Regions from separate parts of the Homo sapiens genome. Here all the other regions are linked to region 1. The links are contacts of gene promoters, found by promoter capture Hi-C in human tissues and cell types (Jung and others, 2019). All regions are on one chromosome and are shown on one strand. Each heading gives the region's core, a stretch centred on a gene start or on the middle of the fragment in contact. The rest is flanking DNA. Distances are from core to core; before and after follow the strand shown.

Region 1 (4,344 bases), core at 454-2,953:
CTGCAACCTCTGCCTCCTGGGTTCAAGCGATTCTCCTGCCTCAGCCTCCTGAGTAGCTGGGATTACAGGCGCACGCCACCACGCCCGGCTAATTTTTGTACTTTTAGTAGAGACAGGATTTCGCCATGTTGGTCAGGCTGGTCTCGAACTCCTAACCTCGTGAGCCACCTGCCTCGGCCTCCCAAAGTGCTGGGATTACAGGCGTGAGCCACTGCGCCCGGCCAGAAACCAGATTTCTGAAGCCTGGACAACTAACGTCTACTTTTTCCCACAACTTCTCTCTTTTCTAAATTTCTAAAAATCACCCAGCCTCACCAACCCAAACATAACCAATGTTAACACTTTAAAAATTTTCCTGTCAGTCTTTTATTATCCCAATAAATTTTTTATTTTGCAGGATTATAATCACCCTGTATATGCAAATTCTTATTACTGTGGAATAAACATTTTCTCTATCATTAGATATGCTTTACATTTTTTAATGACTGCAAAAAAATTTCTTCCAATATACCAACCACCTTCCTGCAGCTTCTTCTCACCCTCCAAGCATTAAACGTGCCTTCAACTGTGAGGATAAGAAAGAACTCAAGCCAACCCAACCACTCCTTCATGCATGACCTCTAAAACGCTGCGGGACGTCGTGAGAAGGGGCTATTCAGCAGAAAAAGGTGCAGTAGTGTTTCATTTAATAACACCCCAAAAATAGTGGGGAGAAGGAAGTTCGGTGAAGGATGGTCTCCTTATCACTCCCTCCAAGTCTTAGCTGCAGCTGGCTCCCTCCCACTCGCCCACCGAGCAGTGGCGGCCAGAATCCTTGGCAGAGATAACCCTCAGCTCCACTGGGGTTAGGGGTCTGGGCCAGACATGGGTGGGCAAGAGAGAAAAACGGAAGGGCGGGGTGTAAGAGTGGGTTCTTTCCCAGGCCAGATGACTTACACAACGTTTTGGCTTCCAGTCCCTGAGAAAGTGGGGGTGGGGATGGAAATCACTTTTCCAGGAGAGCTGTCTCCTTCGGGCTAGGATGATCAACTTGGCATGGGCTCTGCAAAGTTAGTTTGGAGCGTCCCTCCCCAAGGGGTCCCGCCAGGGGTGGGGGTGGGGGCGCCCACCTGCAGCTGGCTGGAGCAGCCGTACTGGATGAGCGGTGTGAAAGTTGTCAGCTGCAGCTCGGCGTCCGTCTGCAGCTCGTGCCCAACCAGGTTGGGCATCTTGGTCACGTTGTAGCCGAGGTTCTGGCACATGGAGATGCGGATGGGGTCGCAGCGCCGCTCTTCCTCGTCCCCGAAGCCCCGCGCCGGCCCCAGGAGCAGCAGCAACTGCAGGAGCAACCCCAGACTGAGACCGACGCCCCCGGGCGCCCCCGGGACGCTCGGCCCTGCGCCCCGCCAGGCCATGGCCAGCATCGGGGGTAGCAGCGGCAGCGGCTGGGGCTGCTCTGGCAGACACCCCCAGTTTGCACGGGGGCGCCGGCTGCCCGCGCTGCTCCCAGCTCCCGGGACGGGAGTGTGATGCGGCGACGAGGGGGCAGCGGCCGGCTCTCCAGCAGCTGCGCGCGACTGTGTGGGATTTTAGACGTCCCGGGCCGAGGCCGAGGGACAGGCTGCGAGGGTCATGGCTGCAGGCGGCGAGCCCACAAGCCGGCGCCGGCCGCGTCCGTTCGGCGTCTCCGCGAGGCCAGCCAGCAGCCAGCGCTGCGCAGCTCTCACCGCCGGAGCCCTGCGCGGCGCTGGAGGCTCGCGGCGCGGCGGCGGGGCGGGACGGACAGCGGGCCTCTCCAATGGCCGGGCGCGGTGGGCAGCTAGGGGCGAGGCGGCGGGGCGGGGCCGCTCTCCCGCAGGAGGAGTCAGGCCCCCGCCCTCCGGCCCCCTCCTCCGGCCGCCCCTCCCTCCCTCCCTCCCCTAGCGCCCCGCCCCGCCCGCCTCCCGGCTCTTGCTTTCCTCCCACCCGGATCTAGGCGCGCAGGGGCCAAGCAGGGACGCAGCCCAGTGGCTCCAGCCACGCCGTCCTGCCCCCTTCTGCAGGTGAGAAGTGCGCCCTGTTCCATCTGCCCCCTTTCCTTCCTGTCTCCTTTCAGCTGTAACCTAGGCCGGTGGCCACCTCCCCGTCAGGCAGAGAAACGTACACAAAGAATTGGGGATTTGGATTTACACCGATTGTGGCTTTCAGTCCCGGTTGTGTGACCTTGAGCAAATTGCTCAACCCCTCGGCGTCAGTCTCCTCTGTAAAGTCACTTGGGAGGATTAGAGATAAAGTGTAGAAGGCTTAGCATGGTGCCTGGTACTGCGTGAGTCCACAGCTATTTTCACTCCGGACCAGCGGCGATCGGGGCCCGGCCTCTCCCCGCCCCCAGACTCGCCCGACCTGCGCAGGGAGCCGCCCACCTCCAGCCGCCAGCGGGGAGGCGCCCCAGAGCTGCGGAGCTGCAGACCCGCCGACGGTCTCGCGCTCTGATTTCCTCACCGTATGAAATGAAATTCCACAGGGGGATTCGAAAGGAAATGAGACCGGGACTCTCCGTGCTTCTCGGCCCGCCGCCCTTCCTGTCTCGGGGACACGGTTTCTAAATAAGGTTGGGAGGGTGAGAGGGCGGGAGGGGAGAGGCTTGACCTGTGCACTGGGGACGAGGAAGGCGCACAACCACCGTGACTCCTCTCTCCCGGCCTCCCGGGCACCCCCTCCCCACCAGGCTGCACCCCTTTTTTTCTTTGCTTCTGCTTCGGCTCCTAGGGATCTGGGGATCATGTGACCCAGGTTTGAACCCAACTTTCCTGTCTCATTACCAGCCCCCCGCGGCTTTGTGCTGGTCCACCCTCTCTCTGCTTTCCAGTCGGCCAGTAAACTCCCAGCAGGTGGATTCCTCCACCGTTTACTTGTTGCTTGACTGTGTTGAAGCTATGGTGCCTCTCTGAGCCTCAAAGTGGCCGGCTGTAAAGTGGGGAAGTTCATATCCACCTCACACAGTTGTTCTAAGAGTTCAGTGAGATAATACCTGTAAATCATTTAGCAGTGTCTGACACATAATAAATGCTGAAGAACTTGGTGATTGGGGTGTGTGTGTGTGTGTGTGTGTGTGTGTGTGTGTGTGTATGTGTTTCCAAAACAGCTAGGGGAGATCAATTATGGGACAGCCTCCTGCTTTCCAGCCTGGTGCTAAAGACAGCTCCAGCAGCCCCGGAATGAGGATCTGGGTAAAAGGCTTTTCACCCTCTTCCTGAGATCTTTTTGTCCAACACTTGCCACTGTTTTATGCATGTTTTTATCCTCCCATTTCAGCCAATTCTGTGGCATATGGCAGAGGCTAGATGCAAGTTGGAAGAATGTCTGTGCCACTCATGTGACACTCATATTCTGTCTTGTATTTTTAGTCTTCTTATATTGGCAACGAGACTTGACTGAGGGCAAAAATGGAATCAACTTTTTTTTGGTATTTGGCTCTGTGCCTAGAACTGTGTTGGACACGGAGAAGCTGCATTGTCTCCAGTCATCATCATAAACTCCCAGTGAAGGAGGTTCCGTTAGCTCCTTATAGAGATTAGGAAACTGAGGCTAGAACCACAGTAATAGAAAATGACAAGACCAACCAAACCAGGGCCCAGAAGAGGCTCTTCAAAGATGGAAGGCAGGGCTATTTTCCCAGAAAAAATTCCCAGCTGGAAATCAATGTACTCAGCAATAGGATTGAATCTCTGTGTGCCTGTGCTGAGTAATGCATAAAACCCTTGGCCTACAGAGATGAATAAACGATCAGATGTAGAGATCAAATGATCTATTAATCATTTGGGTTACAGAGATGAATATATAATCAGATGAACAGATCAAATGAATAGATAATCCTCATCCTTTAGGATCTCACAGGAGGAGACAAAGGATTAACAAACAACAATAACTTAGTTTGCTAAGTGCACAGATAGAGAATTGTGGGTGAATTGAAGGTAGAAGTGGCTGAGTCTGGAGGGCTACTCAAAGGGGGATGACCTGCAAGACTCGTAGCTACTCAACAAAGTGTAGTTAGTATGCAATTGGCCCTTCTTCTAGGGAAGAGTGGTGGTGGTGGGGTGTGCTTTGTGCTGAAGATATGGTTACATGGTTTATTAAACAGTGAACTCCCTGAGGTCAAGGAGGAGGACCTGTCCCTCATACAGGGCCTGGCACACAAGGAACATCATTTGTTCTGGGTGAAGGAATACTGTTTTCAAATCAATAACAAACCACTCATATAGAACTCTTACTTTCAGACACTGTGTTACATGCCTTACATTCTTAATTTTATTTATTTCTCACAACTTGCAGAAACTGATGCTCTGAGAGGCCAAGCAGTTTGCCCAAGATTACACAGTAAGTCGT
Region 2 (4,333 bases), core at 157-2,656, 260 kb after region 1:
CTTAACCATAGTGTCAATAGTTTTGCTTTTCCTGGTTTTAGTTACCTGTGGTACAGTACAAGAAGATGAGAGAGAAAGAGAGAGAGACCATTCATGTAACTTTTATTATAGTATATTGTAACTGTTCTATTTTTTATTATTGTAATTTCTTACTGTTCCTAATTTATAAATTAAACTTTATCACAGGTATGTATGTATAGGAAGAAACATAGTGTATATAGGGTTTGGCATTATAAGTAGTTTCAGACATCCACTGGGGGTCTTGGAATGGATCCCCTGCGGATAAGGGGGGACTACAGTCTTTTTGAAAATCCCTTAGCTTGTATTGCCAACATGATATGTAAACTAAGAACAGACTTACCTTGAGAGTAGACCTAAGATATTCTACTACAAGTTAAGTGCATGGTGGGTGTGAATTTCTCTCTCCTGCCTCTGAACCTTTTTTTTTTCTTTTGAGAAGCAAGTGCAGGGGAGAGGGTACAGTGGCTTACTCTACCCTGTTGTTTGACTATGTGTTGACGTAGTGTTTTCCAAGATATTCTTCATGTATTCCCAGAGTTTTGCAGAGCCTACCAGGAACTACTATGTAACACAGTATGAGAGGCAAATCAGGACTTTAGGGTACCTTATCCTACCTCAGGCAGAGCATTTCTGCATTCATTTGTTTTACTAAAAGTTTTGCAGGTCTGGTTTTGTTTGAGCAAAGAGTTTCTTTGCTTAAAAAACAAAACTTTAAAACTACTATTTAGATAATTGGACTTGTTGGCTGAGTTTTGGATATGTGATGTTAATTATACAGTTAAACCATAAGCACTTTAAGGTTTTATAAAAATATATTTGCCTTAAGCCATTTCTAAAATATATTTTCCAATTGAGGGATTTAAATGCTTTGATTTGATCAATTACTTTAAAATGATGCTTTAAAAACACATTTTAGAACACAGCAATCCAAAATTTAGAGCATCAATTACACAAGAAGTAAAATTGTACAAAATTAAGGGCTTATTTACATCTAAGTAAGTAGTGTATGTAATAAAATAGCATAATAAAAAGGCTCTGAGTATATTGATGGAGGCATATCATTTGGTCCAACAATGAGGGAATAGGTCTTTTTAAAAACTAACAACTTAATCTTTATCAGAAATTGCCTGTTTAAATGAAAGGTAAATAATTTGAAAAGAAAAATGTAATAAATAAGAGGGTATGTTTTTGAGAATATAAAAGTTTAAATATTAAAGTGTTTATAAATATTGCTATAAATGCATGTGTGATCCAGGGCTGAGCTCATCTGGAATCGGGAGGTAGACCAATTTCTCTATATCCCATGAATGGCTTGGGCAACTCCTTGACCATTGGGTATACAGAATGTTAATTGATGTTGTTTGTGTGTCTCTTGTAGTTCTCTTGACCTACAAAGAATCAAGGTGTAGAAGTTATATATTTGAAGGGCTGGGTTTGTGGAAAAATGATCAGTGTTTTATAAATCTAGGAATTATGAATATAATTTAGAGAAAGGCAAATTTCAGTACAATAATGAGAACTGACCAAAAATGGATTTCAAATAGAACTGTTCTAAAAAGGGATTTGGGGCCGGGTGCGGTGGCTCCTGCCTGTAATCTCAGCACTTTGGGAGGCTGAGGTGGGCAGATCACCTGAGGATGGGAGTTCAAGATCAGCGTTACCAACATAGAGAAACCCCGTCTCTGCTAAATATGCAAAGTTAGTTCGGCGTGGCGGCTCATGCCTGTAATCCCAGCTACTCGGGAGCCTGAGGCAGGAGAATCGCTTGAACCAGGGAGGTGGAGGTTGCGTGAGTCGAGATCGTGCCATTGCACTCCAGCCTGGGCAACAAGAGTGAAACTCTGTCTCAAAAAAAAAAAAAGAAGGTTGGGGTGGTGGGTTTGGTTGCCTGGTAAAGTTGAGAATTTCCTATTCTAGGAGATGTTTAAACAAAAGCTAGACAGTGATCTTTTAGGATCATTGCAGAGGGGATTCATGTCATGGAGAAGAGGATGGATTAGATAGTTCTCAGGCCTTTTTCAGTGCTTAAGATTGTATGAGTGTTCCAAGTCTTTAAGCTTCTTCTAGGGCAGTAATTCCAACTGGGGGCAATTTTGTACATCTTCCTAAAGACATTTGGCTATGTTTGGAGGCATTTTTAGTTGTCGTCATTGGTGGGGATGGCAGAGGGGTGCTGTCTAGGTAAAGGCCAGCGATGCTACTAAACATCCTATAATACAAGACAGCCCTTCTTCCCTGCCATGAGCCCCACCCAGACAACAAATAATTTATCCACCCCCAAATCTCACTAGTGTCAGTGTTAAAAAACTCTAGGGATTTAACTTAGAAGTGGGCCCTTTGATCTTTAAAACTTATCTGGGCCTGAAGTTATTAGGCCAGATAATACTGGCCTTTGGCAAAGGTATGAAGTAGGAAACACTTACTTTGAACAGATTCTTGCCATATTTGTAACATCATCACTTCCATTGCCCTCATGCTCTGTACCACCCCTCTAGACCTATCCTCACTAATGATTCTTGGTCTCATCAGGCTTAGCTCCCTTGGGCTCTATTTCTTTAACATCTACTATCTGTTACCTAGATAATCTGAAAAATGAATATACCAGCTGATATTGCTTTAGTAGTTTTTCCTTATGGTGATAATGCCTAAATCCCCTTTTCTGTCACAGTGATTCATGGTAATCCTGTTGGAGCCATTCATGATTCCAAGCCGTCAACTCACAGGGCTATAAAAATGTGCTGTAGGCTGGGCGCGGTGGCTCATGCCTGTAATCCCAGCACTTTAGAAGGCCGAGGCAGGTGGATCACTTGGGGTCAGGAGTTCGAGATCAGCCCGGCCAATATGGTGAAACCCCGTCTCTACTAAAAATACAAAAATTAGCCAGGCATGGTGGTGCACACCTGTGATCCCAGCTATTCGGGAGGCTAAGGCAGGAGAATCGCTTGAACCCAGGAGGCAGAGGTTGCAGTGAGCTCTGATCACGCCACTGCACTCCAGCCTGGGTGACAGAGTGAGACTCTGTCTCAAAAAACTGTGCCGTAAAATTTACAAGTTGTCATTCACATAAAACATATATGCATACTTTATTAAAGCAAGACAATATGATTCTTGTCTAATATCTATTCAAAATTATTTAAATAAAATTAAAACATTAGAAATATTTACATGCATTTATATGTAGCTAATTAGAGCTAACAACTCAGAGGTAGATTAGAATTTCAATAGAAGCAGTTTGAGTACTGGAAATTATCAATACTGAGAATGGTCTACAATCATCTGGGTAGAAATCACCTAAATTTTGGAGGTCGTATTATTAATCTACCAAGGCTACCGTAACAAAATACTACAGACTAGATGGCTTATTCAATAGAAATTTGTTTTCTCAAAGTTCTGGAGGCTACAAGTCTAAGATCAAGGTGCTGTCAGGGTTGGTTTCTGGTGAGACCTCTTTTTTTGGCTTATGGACAGCAGCCTTCTTGGTATTTCCTTACATGGGCTTTCCTCTGTGCATGTGGTCAGGGGGTGGTGGCGGGGCTGGGGGGAGAGAGCCAGGGAGAGTGAGAGAGTGAGAGCGAAAGAGCGAGCAAGGAGCAAGCATGTGAGTAAGTGAGAGCTCTCTCTGGTGTTGCTTCCACTTCTTATACAGACACCAATCTTACTGGATTAGGGCCTAACCCTTAAGACCTCATTTAACCTGAGTTACTTTCCTAACAGCCATCTCTTCAAATACAGGTGCATTGGGGATTAGGGCTTTAACATATGAATTTTTGGGGGACACAATCAGTTTTATAACATGAGGTAACTGACCATAAGTTTTACATGAAATAATCAGACAATAGTTTTCTGTTGAAACTTAGTTGGCATAAGTAAACTGCTCTGATGTGTTTTGTGGTTTAGTGTCATAACAATCCAAAGTGAAATTCATGTCACTATATTATTATAGATAATATGCAAACTTTTCTTCTAGTCATTCATGCTGTAGTCACTACTAAGTATTGAGTGTATAAAATTGGATAATTTATTTTTGCTCAGATAGGTCTCAATAAAAAAGCATGTAAATGTCTAGGTTCTCATGAAATTTTTGAAGCAGAGTAATTAGCAATACTTTAATGTTTAGTTTTCATTAACAACTGGTCATTTTACCCACTTTCCTTTATATAAAAATGAAATCATGCTCCACAAATGCCGGTTTATAATTTGGCTCCTAACTTGATTAAGATGAAGGAATGTATGCTTAGGATAGCTCAGACACTGAGATATTGTATACCAGGAACCACCTGCTTTCCTTAGGGCATTTTCTGTTAAAATATTA
Region 3 (4,624 bases), core at 1,538-4,037, 430 kb after region 1:
TTGATTGGTTTAAGGCCCCGTTCATATAAAAAAAAGACAGGTGTTTTTTTTTCCCCCAAGATGGCAGATTAGAAGCTTTTAGCATGCCTTAGCTACTTGGAAATAGCACGATAGTTCATAAAGGTCTACTCCGTGAGCTTTAATTCAAGAAGGAAAATGGGAATCCAGTGGAATTATGAAGAACATCACTGATTCCAGGGAGGAGAATGCCAGCAAACAGCTCTGGTGATGGTGTCTGGCTGATAATGGTGATTGAAGCCTAAGTATATGAGAGAGGCAGACAGCCTTCCCCTGTGACTGACCTTTCCACTGGGAATCCAAGTGTATTCTGTTCTCATACTGCTATAACAAACTCCCGTGACTGGGTAATTTATGAAGAAAAGAGGTGTAATTGACTCACAGTTCCAAAGGCTATACAGGAAGCATGGCTGGGAGGTCTCAGGAAACTTACAATCATGGCAGAAGGCAAAGAGGAAGCAAACATGTCTTATACCATGGTAGAGCAGGAGAGAGAGAGTGAAGGGGAAAGTGCTACATAGTTATTATTATTATTATTATTACTTGAGACAGAGTCTTGCTCTATTACCCAGGCTGCAGTGCAGTGGTGCAGTCTTGGCTCACTGCAACATCTGCCTTCCAGGTTCAAGCAATTCTCCTGCCTCAGCCACCCTGGTAGCTGGGACTACAGGCATGTGCCACCATGCTTGGCTAATATTTTTGTACATATAGTAGAGACAGGGTTTCACCCTGTTGGCCAGGCTGGTCTTGAACTCCTGACCTCAAGTGATCTGCCTGCCTCAGCTTCCCAAAGTGCTAGGATTACAGGCATGAGCCACCACACCCAGCCCTACTACATACTTTTAAATAACCAGATCTCATGAGAACTCACTGTCATAAGAACAAAAGAAGGGAAATCCACCTCCATGATCCAGTCACCTCCTATCAGGTTCCCTCCTCAACACGGGGAATTAAAATTCGATATGAGATTTGGGTGGGGAGGATGCAGAGCAAAACCATTTGGTGGTGATACCAAATTGCTCAGTGATACTGAGCAATTCCGGCTGAGATACAGCACTATGTTTCTCCCAAGCCCTGTAACTAACAGGGAGAGGCTTGAATATGCTGTGATGGAAAGATAGGGAAAAGCTGCAGACACAGTCCCAGAGCCAGGACTGAGATAAGGATGCCGTTTTTAACCTGGGCACATAAAAAGTCAGCCATTCTTTGGCTACCCAGCAGCATGGCCACACAAACAATATATTCTCAGGCCAGAGATTGGAGCACCCACTCTGAAGTGGAATAGGAGCTCCCACAGCCAGAACTGAGGAAGGCATTTCAGCATTAGGCATTAGAATTATGCTGTCCCTCATTGCAAGCGTAGAGGTGGCAGAGAAATACTACAGCAGCAGTTTCTCCTGAGAGGTGAGACTTGCAGCTAGGGACAGCTTGGAAACTTGGAACCGGTCTGTGTGTGCCATTGCTGGGCACCCTCAGCCTGCTCCCCTGAGATTGTGGTGCAGTAGAGCCCTCTGTGCTCCACCCCCAGGCAGAAATCCAGGCATTTGTAGCACCCACTTCCCTAGGCCAGCAGTGTAAGCTGCCTCAATCTCCATGGACATAGATCATGGTGAATTAGGGCTCTCTCTGCTCCACATCCAGGCATTCAGAGCATCTTCTCACCTAGATCAGCAGCTTGACCCACCCTACCCTTCTTGGGCAGAGTTCCTGGTGCAGGGACGCCCACTCTGCTTCATGCTTAAGCAGATCTCTAGGTATTTGGAGCATTTTGTCTATTCAGCAGCCTGAGCTACCCCACCCTTCCTGGATATAGATCATGGTGCACCTGAGCTTTCTCTGATGTATGCCCAGGCAGATCTCCAGGTATTCAGAGCACCTGCTTGCCCACCCTGTTAGTCTGAGTCACCCCACCCCTCCTGTGCAGACATCTTGGTGTAGTGGGGGCTCTCTCTGCTCCACGCTCAAATAGATCTCCAAGCATCTGGAGCACCTACTTTCCCAGATTAGGAGTTTAGGCCCTCTCCCATCCCCATGCAGAGAACTTGAAGAGCTAAGTAAGCTTCCCAGCTCCATGCCTAGGCACTCCTCTGGGTACTTGGTGGCTGCCTGCTGGATTCTCCCTTGGCACTGATGCTCATGCCTGCCATCAGGGATCTGTAGGTGGACCCCCCAGTCCAGCCCTGCCCATCGTGGCCCCCACCCACCAGTGGCTGAACATGGAGCTCAGACCACTGTGCCTTCCATGAATCAGCCCATTGACTAAGGAAACAGCTTCTGCCAGTAAACAAGGATCATGTATATACCCAGCCATGTTGGCCACAGATTACTTACTTATAAGTACCTTCTACTGGCTTGTAGGTCAAACAGCACAGCCCAATATAAAACCCACTAAAAAAGAGTGCTTACGGCTATTGAAGCAAAGCCAAAAGACTGTATCCAGCATTCTCTACAGTCACATTCCCTAGGGAATGGGGGGAAAAGAAAAAGGAAGGGAAACATAATAGGGAAAGAAAGAAAAAGAAAAAAATCTACCTATATAAAAATAACTACAAAAATTAGAAGTGCAAGTCTCTCCAGATGATAAGGAACCAGCACAGGAATTCTGGCACCATGAAAAATCTGAATGTGGAGACAACACAAAAAGATCACACTAATTGGTCCAGCAAGGGTCCCTAACCAAAATGGAAATTCAGAAACTACAGATAAAGAATTCAAAGCACGGATTGCAAGGAAGGTCTATGAGATCCAAGGCAAAGTTGAATATCAACACAAAGAAACTGCTAAGCAATCCAGGAAATGAAGAAAGAGACATCTTAAAAATAAATCAACCAGAGCTTCTGGAACTGAAAAACTCAATGAATTTTGAAATACAATTGAAAGCTTTAGCAATAGACTGAATCAATCAGAGGAAAGAATTTCAGAGCTTGAAGACCAGTCTTTCAAACTAAACCAGTCAGACCAAAAAAAAAAAAAAAAAAAGGAATTAAAACAACCAACCAAATTCTTCAAGATACATGGTATTATGTAAAGCAACCAAAAGCTATGAATTACTGGCATTCCTGAGAAAGAAGGAGGAAAAGTAAACAACTTGGAAAACATATTGAGGGAATAATTCAAGAAAAATTTTCTAATCTTGCTAGAGAGGTAGACATCCAGGTACAAGAAATCTAGAGAACACCTGGGAGAAACTATACAAAACTAACTCCACCAGGGCATATAGTCACCAGACTGTCCAAGGTCAATGCTAAAGAAAAAATCTTGAAGGCAGCTAGAGAAATAGGTCAGATCATGTGCAAAGGGAACCCTATCAGGCTAACAGTGGACTTCTCAGCAGAAACTTTACAAGCCAGAAGAAATTAGGGGCCTATTTTTAGCATTCTTAAAAAAAATAAATTTCAACCAAAAATTTCTTATCTCGGGTTGTTCCAAGATGGCCGTATAGGAACAGCTCCGGTCTGCAGCTCCCAGCAGGATTGATGCAGAAGAAGGGTGATTTCTGCATTTCCAACTGAAGTACCTGATTAATCTCATTGGGACTGGTTGGACAGTGGGTACAGCCCACAGAGGGTGAGCCGAAGCAGGGCGGGGCATCGCCTCACCTGGGAAGTGCAAGAGGTCAGGCGATTTCCCTTTCCTAGCCAAGGGAAGCCATGACAGACTACCTGGAAAAACAGGACACTCCTGCTCAAATACTGTGCTCTTCCCAAGGTCTTAGCAACTGGCAAACAAGGTGATTCTCTCCTGTGCCTGGCTTGGTGGCTCCCATGCCCACGGAGCCTTGCTCACTGCTAGTGCAACAGTCTGAGATCCATCTGCTAGATGGCAGCCTGGCTGGGGGAGGGGCTTCTGCTATTGCTGAGGCTTGAGTAGGTAAACAAAGCAGCCGGGAAGCTTGAACTGGGTGGAGCCCACTGCAGCTCAACAAGGCCTACTGCCTCTGGACTCCACCTCTGTGGGCAGGGCATAGCTGAACAAAAGGCAGCAGACAACTTCTGCAGACTTAAACATCCCTGTCTGACAGCTCTGAAGAGAGAAGTGGTTCTCCCAGCATGGCGTTTGAGCTCTGAGAATGGACAGACTGCCTCCTCAAGTGGGTCCCTGATGCCCGTGAAATGGAACTGGGAGACACCTCCCAGTAGGGGTCGACAAACACCTCATATAGGCAGCTGCCCCTCTGGGACGAAGCTTCCAGAGGAAGGATCAGGCAGCAATATTTGCTGTTCTGCAATATTTGCTGTTCTGCAGCCTCCACTGGTGATACCCAGGCAAACAGGGTCTGGAGTAGAACTCCAGCAAATTCCAACAGACCTGCAGCTGAGGGACCTGACTGTTAGAAGGAAAACTAACAAACAGAAATGAATAGCATCAACATCACCAAAAGGTCATCTACACCAAAACCCCATCTGTAGGTCACCAACATTAAAGACCAAAGGTGGATAAAACCACAAAGATGGGGAGAAACAAGAGCAGAAGCGCTGAAAATTCTAAAAATCAGAGTGCCTCTTCTTCTCCAAAGGATTGCAGCTCCTCACCAGCAACGGAACAAAGCTGGATAGAGAATGACTTTGACGAGTTGACAGAAGTAGGCTTTAGAAGATTGGTCATA

Evidence for each region. Contacts are between HindIII fragments. The study calls those that stand out against the background at their distance.
Region 2: a contact is called between a fragment that was not itself captured here and the fragment with the promoter of FZD4 in region 1, in 4 of the 25 tissues and cell types used here (IMR-90 fibroblasts, aorta, mesendoderm cells and 1 more).
Region 3: a fragment that was not itself captured here is called in contact with the fragment with the promoter of FZD4 in region 1 in 2 of the 25 tissues and cell types used here (mesendoderm cells and thymus).

Annotation. Positions count from the first base shown.
Region 1 is chr11:86,953,692-86,958,035 of GRCh38, forward strand. FZD4 (frizzled class receptor 4) reads right to left here and starts at 1,704. Exons shown (of 2, transcript NM_012193.4): 1 at 1,110-1,704. The coding sequence starts at 1,394. FZD4-DT (FZD4 divergent transcript) reads left to right here and starts at 1,930. Exons shown (of 3, transcript NR_038905.1): 1 at 1,930-2,021; 2 at 4,291-4,335. RefSeq lists silencers at 1,382-1,431, 1,562-1,931, 2,282-2,431. The HindIII fragment of the contact is 8,131 bases long and covers 1-4,344 here.
Region 2 is chr11:87,215,916-87,220,248 of GRCh38, forward strand. All of the region lies in intron 5 of TMEM135 (transmembrane protein 135), which reads left to right. Among named protein-coding and RNA genes, the nearest start is that of TMEM135, 180 kb to the left of the region's middle. The HindIII fragment of the contact is 6,422 bases long and covers 1-4,333 here.
Region 3 is chr11:87,383,087-87,387,710 of GRCh38, forward strand. The region is part of intron 2 of LOC107984361 (a long non-coding RNA gene); the gene reads left to right. Among named protein-coding and RNA genes, the nearest start is that of LINC02711, 330 kb to the right of the region's middle. The HindIII fragment of the contact is 3,422 bases long and covers 1,077-4,498 here.